Linked DNA regions of Homo sapiens: region 2 is linked to region 1. The links are contacts of gene promoters, found by promoter capture Hi-C in human tissues and cell types (Jung and others, 2019). All regions are on one chromosome and are shown on one strand. The core of a region is centred on a gene start or on the middle of the fragment in contact, and the rest is flanking DNA. Distances in the headings are between cores, read along the strand shown.

Region 1 (5,279 bases), core at 1,691-4,190:
AGGCTTGAGTGCAGTGGCGCGATCTCGGCTCACTGCAAGCTCTGTCTCCTGGGTTCATGCCATTCTCCTGCTTCAGCCTCCCGAGTAGTCCCAGGAGTAGCTGGGACTACAGGTGCCCACCACCACACCCAGCTAATTTTTTTGTATTTTTAGTAGAGATGGGGTTTCACCATGTTATCCAGGATGGTTTTGATCTCCTGACCTCGTGATCCGCCCGCCTTGGCCTCCCAAAAGTGCTGGGATTATAGGCGTGAGCCACCGCCCGGGCAAATTTTTGTATTTTTAGTAGAGATGGGGTTTCACCGTGTTGGCCAGGATGGTCTCAATCTGACCTTGTGATCTGCCCACCTCGGCCTCCCAAAGTGCTAGGATTACTGGCGTGAGCCACCACTCCTAGCCTTAATGCATATTCTTAAATATACAAAGGTAGATTTGTTATGAAAATTGCTTTGGGGCTCTAATAACCTACCTTTTAAGAATGAGAAACTGCTGGGCTTAAGGGAGTTCAGTATGAATCAAGATTGAACCATTCAAATGTGGCTGTGATTTCTGCATATATCATAGATGGGATCCTTCTGAGAATACTGGAATAGGGAATTAGGACACCAAGCCAATTCAGCTGTGAACCTTATTCTTGTACTTTTCTTTCTTGCTGGTAATTTTATGGAGCAGGTTAAGAAGGCTGCTCTGTGTTAGGATAAACTGTATACCAATAATGTTGACAACCTGTAATGAGTGTTGCATTTTACTTCTTGTATCTTTTCCTTCCTACCTTGATGCCAGTAATCTATAAGGGATCTTTATAGTTTGAATGTATTTGAATAACTTCAGTATACTTTAGTTCTACTTTTTTATTTGACTCACAACCATTCTTAGGTCTCAAGTATTCCCATGTGTTTTAAAAGCCTGAAGTCAGTGAGATGAAATTCAACATCAAGAATTTGAAGTAACTTGTAAGGAAAAATAATATAAAGATACCATTGGGGCAGTGGCTCACACCTGTAATCTCAGCACTTTGGGAGGCTGAGGTGGAAGGATCACTTGAAGCCAGAGTTTGAGACCAGCCTGTGCAACACAGCAAGACCCCGTCTCTACAAAAACTTAAAAAATTAGCTGGCTGTGGTGTTGCTCACCCATAGTTCCAGCTACTCGGGAAGCTGAGGCAGTAAGATCACTTGAGCCCAGGAGGCCGATGCTGCAGTGAACTGTGATTGTTCCACTACAGTCCAGCCTGGGTGACAGAGAAAAGAAAAAGAAAACATTACATAATTTGGCTAGAGCATAATAATTTGATTTTCTGGTTTTTGAAAATTTGAGTTGCAATAAAAGGATATTTCAGTGTGCGATTTCAATTTTCCGTAGCAAATGTATATATAGAAAAATGTTAAAATAGATGTATTTGAATACCTTAAAAAATACAAGAAACTGGAAGAAAGATAATATTGCAAAGCATCTACATATATCCTAGGCCTTTTGTGTACAAGGTTATTTGTGACAATTGTAAGGTATTATGAAGGCAGGTAGGATTATCTCCGTTTTACAGATAGGGAAGCTGAGGCCTAGAGGTGGAAACTTGCCCAGTGATGTAAGATTCATCTCCCGGTTATGCCCTCCTGGAAAGCCCTTCCCAACATATTATGTTGTCCATAGAGGGAAAAATGAGCAAAGACAGATGGCTTAACTCTGGTGTGTGACTAAGATATAGGAAATTTATAGAGGAGGTTCTATCAATGTGCCGACTTACTTTGTGTTTTATGTTCTGAGAACGATTACCAGCCATCTCAAATTCTGTGGTTGTCAAAGCTCCCCTGGGGTTGTTGCTGGTTGGCCCCCACTTGCTTTGAGACTTTGATGCCAGGGCAGGTTGAGAGGAACTGACTTCAGCTGAGTTTGATCTTGGATCTGGGAAAGAGAAATGCTTTGAAAATCACGGCAACTCTGGGAAGTTTAAAAGATATTAATGTATCCTGGAGAGTTTGAGGCTTTGCAGAAACTTATTGGCAGAGCAGAATGATTCTGAAAAATGCTACATCAGTGAGGGGATATTTGATAAGGTATTTTCTGCCAACTCGGGTATTCACTTAGCATTGTTTATCCTTTAAGATATGTATACACATACTTCCTCTGTGAGTTTACCCTACTAACAAAGTTTTATCCCCAGCCTCAACCTTGCTTTGGGTCTCCAGGCCCAAGTTTCTCACCATCTCTTGGATGATTGCTCCAGCCCACTCTGCTGCCACCTGGGATCCAACATGTTCAAACCCAGCTGTGAACTTCACAGAGTATTAAAAGAAAGAGCCTTTGCTTCAGCAGTTTATGTTATTAAGACGGAGGCTTGGGTCATGTTATCTCTCTCCACCAATGTGTAAGGTGAAAGTCCTATTAGGTAAGAGTTTTTGGAAGACCCGTGTTTTGTGCTTTTTGGGTTTCAGTATAGGGTTTTTTCCTACAGGGCTAGAGGGAAAGTACCCCAGCATTTCCAACCAGTGGGGTGCAAAATTATTTGGGTCTACAGCTTTACCTATTCCTTTCAAGAACATTTTTGAAAAAACACATCTGTTAAGTTGAACCATGTGTAACTGCTGAATGCTGATGTTTGGCCGTTTTCTACTTAAAAAAATAGGCCAGCAGTTTGTAAATTCAAGCTAATATATGAACTTTTTGAAAAAGTTGTTCTTGGACACTAAAAGGTAAGACGGACGCCAGATTTCCAGAGCAAGGGGAGGAGAGACCCGAGCAACATCACTTCCCTGAAGACCTAGCTCCTGCGCGCGGCCGGGGACTGTGACTCCACATGCCGGCGTTACTTACCCGGGCCCGCGCCTGACTCGCCACACCTCATTTTGCGGCCGCCGTAAAGCGCGGATGCGCGGCGTGGCCACGCCCCTTCAGTGCTTGTGACGCAGGCGCCCTGGGCTTTTTGGGCGCGAAAAAGAAGCAGTCCTGGGTTGTACCCGGCGCAGCTGGGAGCGGCTGCTTCCTCCGGGGTCGTATCTCCGCCCGGCATGGGGCTGCTGGACCTTTGCGAGGAAGTGTTCGGCACCGCCGACCTTTACCGGGTGCTGGGCGTGCGACGCGAGGCCTCCGACGGCGAGGTCCGACGAGGCTACCACAAGGTGTCCCTGCAGGTACACCCGGACCGGGTGGGTGAGGGCGACAAGGAGGACGCCACCCGCCGCTTCCAGGTATGCAGGGTCCCGCCCCGAAGCCGACCGGCTGCGCGGGCCTCCCCCTAGCCTTTTGGCTACCGGGCCCCGCCCCGGGGGAGCGCGCTGAGCTCCGCTTGGCGCCTTCTGATCTTTATTTCTCGCGCCGCCGTTTCGGTGGGAGGAGCAGGGGTGATTTACGGATACTCTTTGCCCTCAGATCCTGGGAAAAGTCTATTCCGTTCTCAGTGACAGAGAACAGAGAGCAGTGTACGATGAGCAGGGAACAGTGGACGAGGACTCTCCTGTGCTCACCCAAGACCGAGACTGGGAGGCGTATTGGCGGCTACTCTTTAAAAAGGTAAAGGACTCTGGAGGTTTCTTTGTGACTGTTACCATCATTCAATCAACAAACCTTTATTGACTGCCTCTAAGATCTTGTATTTTGTGTTAATTTTGTAGGAATTAGGAATTTTGAGTTTGGCCTTGAAATACAGATACACGCACGCTTACTGAAACGGGCTTTAAATTTCCTGTTAATGTGATTGTTGCACTGAAAAGGGCCGATTTATTTTTTTTGCCGGATGCGCTTTATTTTACATATCCAAATGTAAGTCCTGATTCCGGATCACCTCTCACTCTTGGAAATTTCACTTAAATTTCCCTTCCCTGGTCCCTAGTTAGCAGTTAATGAAGATTGGATTTAAAAAGGAGGACTCCGGAGAAGCTTAGGCATAGAAAATCTGGTTCAATAATTTCAACTCAAGCAACTGTTGTATTGCAGCAATTCAACACCCAACTCTAGTTTTACTAACGTACGTTTTATTTAAAGTAAAATTCCCAAAGTTAAAGCAAATCTCCTTTATCATCAGATATCTTTAGAGGACATTCAAGCTTTTGAAAAGACATACAAAGGTTCGGAAGAAGAGCTGGCTGATATTAAGCAGGCCTATCTGGACTTCAAGGGTGACATGGATCAGATCATGGAGTCTGTGCTTTGCGTGCAGTACACAGAGGAACCCAGGATAAGGAATATCATTCAGCAAGCTATTGACGCCGGAGAGGTCCCATCCTATAATGCCTTTGTCAAAGAATCGAAACAAAAGATGAATGCAAGGAAAAGGAGGGTAAGATTTTGAATACTGTGGATTTATATTTTGACTGCTTCCAAAAAGGATTTGAGAGTATTTACAGCAGTAGAAGTAAACATAAAACTCCAGAAATAAGGACTAGGGTTAACTTGGTCTATAGTTTCGATCTAATAAAATGGGCATACCAGTTCATCAAGAGAAACTTTTTCTAGCATGTTGTGCTCAAGATGATTTTTATTGCATAGATTGTTTAAATATTACCATAGTAAAGTAGCACTGAAATATTTTTTCATGTAGGCCAATTCTTGTAGCATTCCTGAGGCATTCCTCAGGAGATAAAGTTAGTGGAACCCGGGTACACAGGATGGGCAGTGATCCTTACTCGGTTGAGGGGGTAAGAAGAGAATGGCAGACACCGTCTTGTTAAAAGTGCAGATGTTTGGGCCTTTGCCCCGAATTTGATTCTTGAGTTGGATACAGAATTTTTCTTTTCTTTTTTTTTTTTTTAAAGAAAAACTTTAGCTTAGCGGTCCCCAGCCTTTTTGATACCAGGTACCTGTTTTGTGGAAGACAGTTTTTCCAGTGACAGTGGGGGTGAGGAGAGTTGGGGGGGTGGTTCAGGATGAAACCTTAGATCATCGGGCGTTAGATTCTCTTAAGGAGCACACAACTTTTAGGACCACTGCTGCCTTCCTGAGTGCCCTCAGGAACTTTTCTGCAGCTTTTACATAAGAGACGCTGGCAGAGAGAAAGCTGACCTTTTTGTTTCCGGTGAAAATTTGAAGGGCCTGTTTTGCCTAGATAAGAGGCTGCACCCTTTCTGGTGAGCTTGAGGGGAACGGTGGAGTGTATATCAAGACCATTTTGGTTCATAGGCTACATCTGCTAAGACTCAAGCTGACAATTATCTTAAGTCGTTCATCATTTCCTGAGATGAAACTGAGCACAGCTGCATTCACAGTAGACTGTTAGCTTGAGAAACTTCCCTAGAATTTGAGGAGAAAATGGCATAGTTTTGATAGACTGTTCAACAAACCTTAGG
Region 2 (5,746 bases), core at 2,686-5,185, 870 kb after region 1:
CTCAAAAAAACAAACAAAAAAGACACTTGTAAAGGTGACTATTTAGTCTTTAATTTCAACAAACTGAATTTAAATATATCAGTTACTCTCAGTTTAGCCATCAGAGATTCAGACTCTGTTATAGCTGACCCCCACAGACCACAAAGGAAATAATTTTTTAAAGAGAAGGGGAAAAGGTACCTTCTTCTCAAGATTGAGATAAGAATAAATAAGGAACTGGTTAAATAAACAAGGAAATTATGATCCATCCTGTCAGTGGAATACTATGCAGCTATTGAAGGAAGCTGCTCATGTCCATCTGGAATTATTTCTAAGATATGTTGTTAAGTGAGTAAAGCAAAACAATATTTAGTACACCACCATTTTGTGGGAAAAGGGAAGAAGCGAAGAGTACATATTTGATTTTATATCTACAAAATATTTCTGGGGAAACTAGTGACATTGATTGTCTCTGAATGACTGGGTGACTGGGGTATAAGGTTGGGAGAGAGACTTCACCCCTTTTGTACCATTCAAATTTTGAAGCAGATGACTATATTAGCGAATCAAAAACATCTTTTTTTTTTTTTTTTTGAGACAGGGTCTTGCTCTGTTGCCTAGGTTGGAGTACAGTTGTGCAGTCATAGCTCACTGCAGACTTGAACTCCTGGGCTCAGGTAATCCTCCCACCTCAGTTTCCCAAGTAGCTAGGACTGCAGGAGCGCACCATCGTGCCCAACTAATGTTTTTTAAAATTTTTCGTAGAGATGAGGTCTTCCTCTATTGCCCAGGCTGGTCTCATTCTTGGCCTCCCAAACCACTAGGATTATAAGCATGAGCCACTGCACCTGTCCTAATTAAAAACAACTTTTAAAATAAAGCTAACAGAATGAATATTTAAACAATGTGAGAGGGAAAAGCAAGTTACTATTGGACGGAGGCTTGCTCTGTCGCCCAGGCTGGAGTGCAGTGGCGTGATCTTGGCTCACTGCAGCCTCCGCCTCCCGGGTTCAAGTGATTCCCTTGCCTCAGCCTCCTGAGTAGCTGGGATTACAGGCATGTGCCACCACGCCTGGCTAATTTTTGTATTTTTAGTAGAGACGGGGTTTCGCCATGTTGGCCAGTCTGGTCTTGAATTCCTAAGCTCGGGTGATCTGCCTGCCTTGGCCTCATAAAGTGCTGGGATTACAGGCGTGAGCCACCACACTTGGCCTGTTTTAAAGACTTTCTTGCAAGGAGACTTGACTAGTCCTCTGTAAGATTTCTCCTAATGTACTCACCCCCTGCACCTTCTGTTCTAACTCTCTAATCAGGCCTTAGCACTCCTTCCTGCTTTTAATACTGTATTCAAACAGAAACCCCCAACCCACATCACTCACTACCATACATGCGCAGTTGGTCTCTTTTCTCCCTTAGAATTCAGATACAGGCCAGGCGCGGTGGCTCATGCCTGTAATCCCAGCACTTTGGGAGGTCAAGGCGGGTGGATCACCTGAGGTCAGGAGTTCGAGACCAGCCTAGCCAACATGGCGAAACCCTGTCTCTACTAAAAAAAAAAAAAAATTAGCCGGACGTGGTGGCAGGCACCTGTAATCCCAGCTACTAGGGAGGCTGAGGCAGGAGAATCACTTAAACCCGGGAGGCGAGGTTGCAATGAGCCGAGATCGCACCACTGCACTCCAGCCTGGGCGACAGAGCAAGACTGTCTCAAAAAAAAAAAAGAATTCAGATCCAAAATGTAACTCGTACCAAATACACACTATTCCATTATTTCCCATATGTGTGTATTAATATATCTGATATCTGTCTCTTCTACGTGTTTCTCCATCTTAATGTGTGTGTGTGTGTGTGTGTGTGTGTGTGTGTGTGTGTGTGTATAGATATATATATACACAGTCTCCTCCACCAAACTGTGATTGTCCCATGGGTGTGTCAGCTGAAATCATTGACTACCTAATGATGCTTGCAGAAATGCTAGCCCTTTGTGGAAAAGATGTGATGGGGATTTTTAATAAACCCAGATACAATACTAGACAATGGCAATAAATCTTACTGCCAAGTTAGTTTGTACCAAATTAAGCGTGTAAGCCCATTGAAGCCATCATCTGGGATGATGCGCTCAGGCTCAGAAAACAGATCTTCTCCGTGGTGTGTCCTGGAAGTTAGGAGCTAGGATTAGCAGCATCACCTCTGACAGTCAGGCAGCCTGAGTACACAGGGGGTCAGCGGGCATAGGGCCTAAGAGCACCGTACAGAACAAGGAATTGTTATCATTTCCATTACTTGTAGGCTGCATTGCTCTTGGCTCCTTAAATTGCTAGTTCTCCTAAATGTTGTCGTTTCCCCTCCCCTCACCCCAGAACTAGGTTAAAATGTGCATTTGTATTAACAAAAGCTCATGGAAGGAGATACAAAAGACAGGACACATGCTCTTTAAGGAAATATCCTCCCCCTTGTTCCACCCAAAGCCATCTAGGGATGGACTTAAGAAAACAAGACATCTGCATCAGCCTTTCCAGGGCTGAAGCAGAACCATCTCCCCTCACTTAACCTTGGCCATCACCAGTCAGCTTTTGATTTTCTCCACTGCAGTCCGGTAAGGCAGGAATAGTACATGGCCACACAGCTTAGAGACTGTCAGCCCAACTTGTCATACCACCTTTCCAAACACTTTTGCATTAGGAAGAGGCAGGTAGCTCCTAACTGGGTCATGCTGCCTAAAGCTGTATCTGTGCATCAGAGGCAGCTGTGGAGAAAAACTCCCAGGGCCACATTCGTTACATGTGCTTTTCGTTGGATTGCTGTTGAATACACTTTTTAAGTTGTCCCTAAAATTGTCGGTATGAGTTCCTAGGGAATACTCAGTGTCTTCCACTGTAGGGGGTAGTCAGATCCACGGCCAACCTATAATTAATGCTGGTGCCTCACAACTCCCAGTTATTCAATTATTCATTCATCCCTCACCAAAAGGACTTGAGTATTTCCCATGTGACTTTTCTTTAATCTAAACCCTTTCTCCTCAGGGTGACAGATTCATGTCATGGAGGAATTGATATTGTCCATATATGGAAGGGATCATGTGGACCCAGTGTGTATAGGGAAAGGGCACCAGCCAAAATTCGAGACCCAGCTCTGTTACCATCTAGCATTGTGACCCTGGGCAAATTATTTAACGTCACATTTCCTCTGAGGTATCTTCCAGTTCTAAGATTCTCTGATTCCAAGTGGACATTTGGGCTCTCATCACTTCAGAGCTCTTCTGTTTAACTATTGTGGTGAATAGATTTATGTATGTAGTTTCTGATATTATATCACACAAACTCAGGGTTTCTTTTTACTGTTGAAACAGCCAGTCATGAATCATGCTGGAGAGTAAATTGGGGACCTGACACAACTCGGATTCTGCCTGGACTTTGCAAAAAGCCAGATGGTGCCAGATTTTTGAGTACTAGTTGAGCCCACTTCTACAAATTCTCTCCCATCCCAATCTAATAGGAATCACCCAATCGCACTTAAACCCTTTGTTCAGGCAGCTGGGCCAGATTTGTACAAAAATACGTAGTATTTAGAAAGCTAGGCCTTCGCTGGGGTGCCTTCATGCTCCCTGTAGACATCTTTCAGATTGGGAGCTGGAATCCCAACCATCAGTCAGCATCATCAAATAGGGAGGCCAGAATTCCAGTACCAACAACTGGTCTGCATAAAAAAGTTGAGATCTGGGAGGAAAACTTGTTCTGCTTGCTGTGATTATGACTGGATTCAGAGATATTGGAAGCAAATATGAATGAACCAACTCTCAGGACCAGCTGTCAAGCACTTGGCTTGTAATCTGCCGTCATCCCACTCATCCCAGGTGCTCCTAGTTTGACAGCTCACCAGCTATTAAATGTTGGCTTCCTGCACGACTCTGATTCATACCCCAGGGGCCTATAATGAGGATCTTGTACCAGGAAAGGGGACCCCAGCTAGGCTGTTTGCTGGCTAACATCCCAGTGGTTTGGGCTACAATAACTTAGCAGCCCTAGTTCTTCCTCCTATGGTAGGAAGGACACCAGAGCCCTCTCCATGTGAGATGGAACATAATCTATAACTTTCTGTGAAGAGATGGCATCTGTAATGAGGCATTCTTGCTGGAGGCCTCCAGAAGTCCCTATTCTACAACCACTTAATACCAATTTAATGAGCCTCTCATTAGAAATTGTCAAGAGCTCTCACTGACATCCTTGAGTATTATTTAATTAATGGTTTATTTACAGGAAAGGGCACCATCTTCATGGGGAGAAGATGAGTACTTGAAATATCAAGACAATTGCAGAAGGCTGTGCCCTGAGAGAATGGAAGAACTGGGAAAGAGAAAAGGAAGTCAGAAGCTTAAGGTTGATGTGAAATGCAGAAAAAGGAATGGTTAACAGAAAGTGTTCATGTTTATCTAATACAGAACAGGTTCCGATCCCCTTCTCAGGACACATTTCTGTGGCAGCAAAGAGTAAAGCTGTAGGCAATCACAGTTTAAGCGCTTCCAGTTCCTTCTGATCTCATTCTGTTTTCACTGAGTAATCTTTTGAGGTTAATCTTCTGAGGTGAATGGGGTTTCCTTAGTAGCTTTCCTACTGAGAAGTATAATGACCAGCTGTCATCATTGTAGTTCTCTTAACAGTTACTATTCTTATTGCAAATTGGCCTGATTTCTGTTCCTTCTGTGGACAGTTTAGTTAGCAGGAATAAGTTTTTCCTGAGCCAAATCAAGTATCTAGATTTGTGAGGCTAAATTTCTAAACTCTAGAGCGCTATAGTCTTGTAGATTTCCCAACACACATCTCATGAATATCCACCACAATATCTTATACTTCAGTCTTTTAGTACCAAAGAATGTTAATTTCCTCTTCACCCTAACTCAGATCCTGGGAGAAAAGATGGGATATTTCCACCCCAACCTCACCCTCAGATTCTAGATGACACCAATAAACCCTTCTTTGTGCTAGTAAGCCGCCTCAGCAGTTGTCTGGTGGCATCCCTCCACTTGAACATGAGAAAATTAAATCTAAAGAGATCAAGTGACTCCATCCGGGTCACACAGCACGTTGGTGGTGGGGCCAGAACTGGAGCCCAGGTCCCGTTACTCCAAGCCTTGTTTTCTACCGCATTACCTTGCTCCTCTGCATTGCTCCAGTGTTTGCATCTGCTGATGTTGGGGGCACTGTGGTGATGTATTAATTAATTCTTGCATTGCTATAAAGAACTACCTGAGACTGGGTAATTTATAAAGAAAAGAGGCTTAATTGGCTCACAGTTCCACAGGCTGTAAAGGAAGCATGGCTGAGGAGGCCTCAGGAAACTTACAATCCTGGTGAAAGGCGAAGAGGAAGGAGGCACGTCTCACATGGCCAGAGCAGGAGGAAGAGAGAGAGGTGGGAGGTGCCACACACTTAACCAGATCTCATGAGAACTCGCTTACTATCATGAGAACAGCAAGGGGGAAATCTGCCCCCATGATCCAGTAACCTCCTACCAGGCCCCTCCTCCAACACTGGGGATTACCATTTGTTTTTGGATTTTCAGGGTTTTTTTGTTTTTGTTTTGCTTTTGTGAGACAGAGTCCCGCTCTGTAACCGAGGCTGGAGTGCAGTGGCACAGTCTTGGCTCACTGCAACCTCCGCCTCCCAGGTTCAAGTGATTCTCATGTCTCAGCCTCCTGAGTAGCTTGGACTATAGGTGCGCACCACCACGCCCAGCTAATTTTTGTATTTATTTTAGTAGAGACAGGGTT

The links. Contacts are between HindIII fragments. The study calls those that stand out against the background at their distance.
Region 2: a fragment that was not itself captured here is called in contact with the fragment with the promoter of DNAJC9 in region 1 in 1 of the 25 tissues and cell types used here (lymphoblastoid cells).

Annotation. Positions count from the first base shown.
Region 1 is chr10:73,244,916-73,250,194 of GRCh38, reverse strand. DNAJC9 (DnaJ heat shock protein family (Hsp40) member C9) reads left to right here and starts at 2,940. Exons shown (of 5, transcript NM_015190.5): 1 at 2,940-3,185; 2 at 3,367-3,507; 3 at 4,019-4,273. The coding sequence starts at 3,006. It overlaps DNAJC9-AS1 (DNAJC9 and MRPS16 antisense RNA 1), which reads right to left and starts at 2,828. Exons shown (of 4, transcript NR_038373.1): 1 at 2,812-2,828; 2 at 1,745-1,902. MRPS16 (mitochondrial ribosomal protein S16) reads left to right here. Exons shown (of 3, transcript NM_016065.4): 3 at 1-1,346. RefSeq lists enhancers at 2,694-3,033, 2,299-3,498 and a silencer at 3,234-3,383. The HindIII fragment of the contact is 4,197 bases long and covers 1,150-5,279 here.
Region 2 is chr10:72,378,073-72,383,818 of GRCh38, reverse strand. All of the region lies in intron 10 of MICU1 (mitochondrial calcium uptake 1), which reads left to right. Among named protein-coding and RNA genes, the nearest start is that of DNAJB12, 26 kb to the right of the region's middle. The HindIII fragment of the contact is 7,352 bases long and covers 260-5,746 here.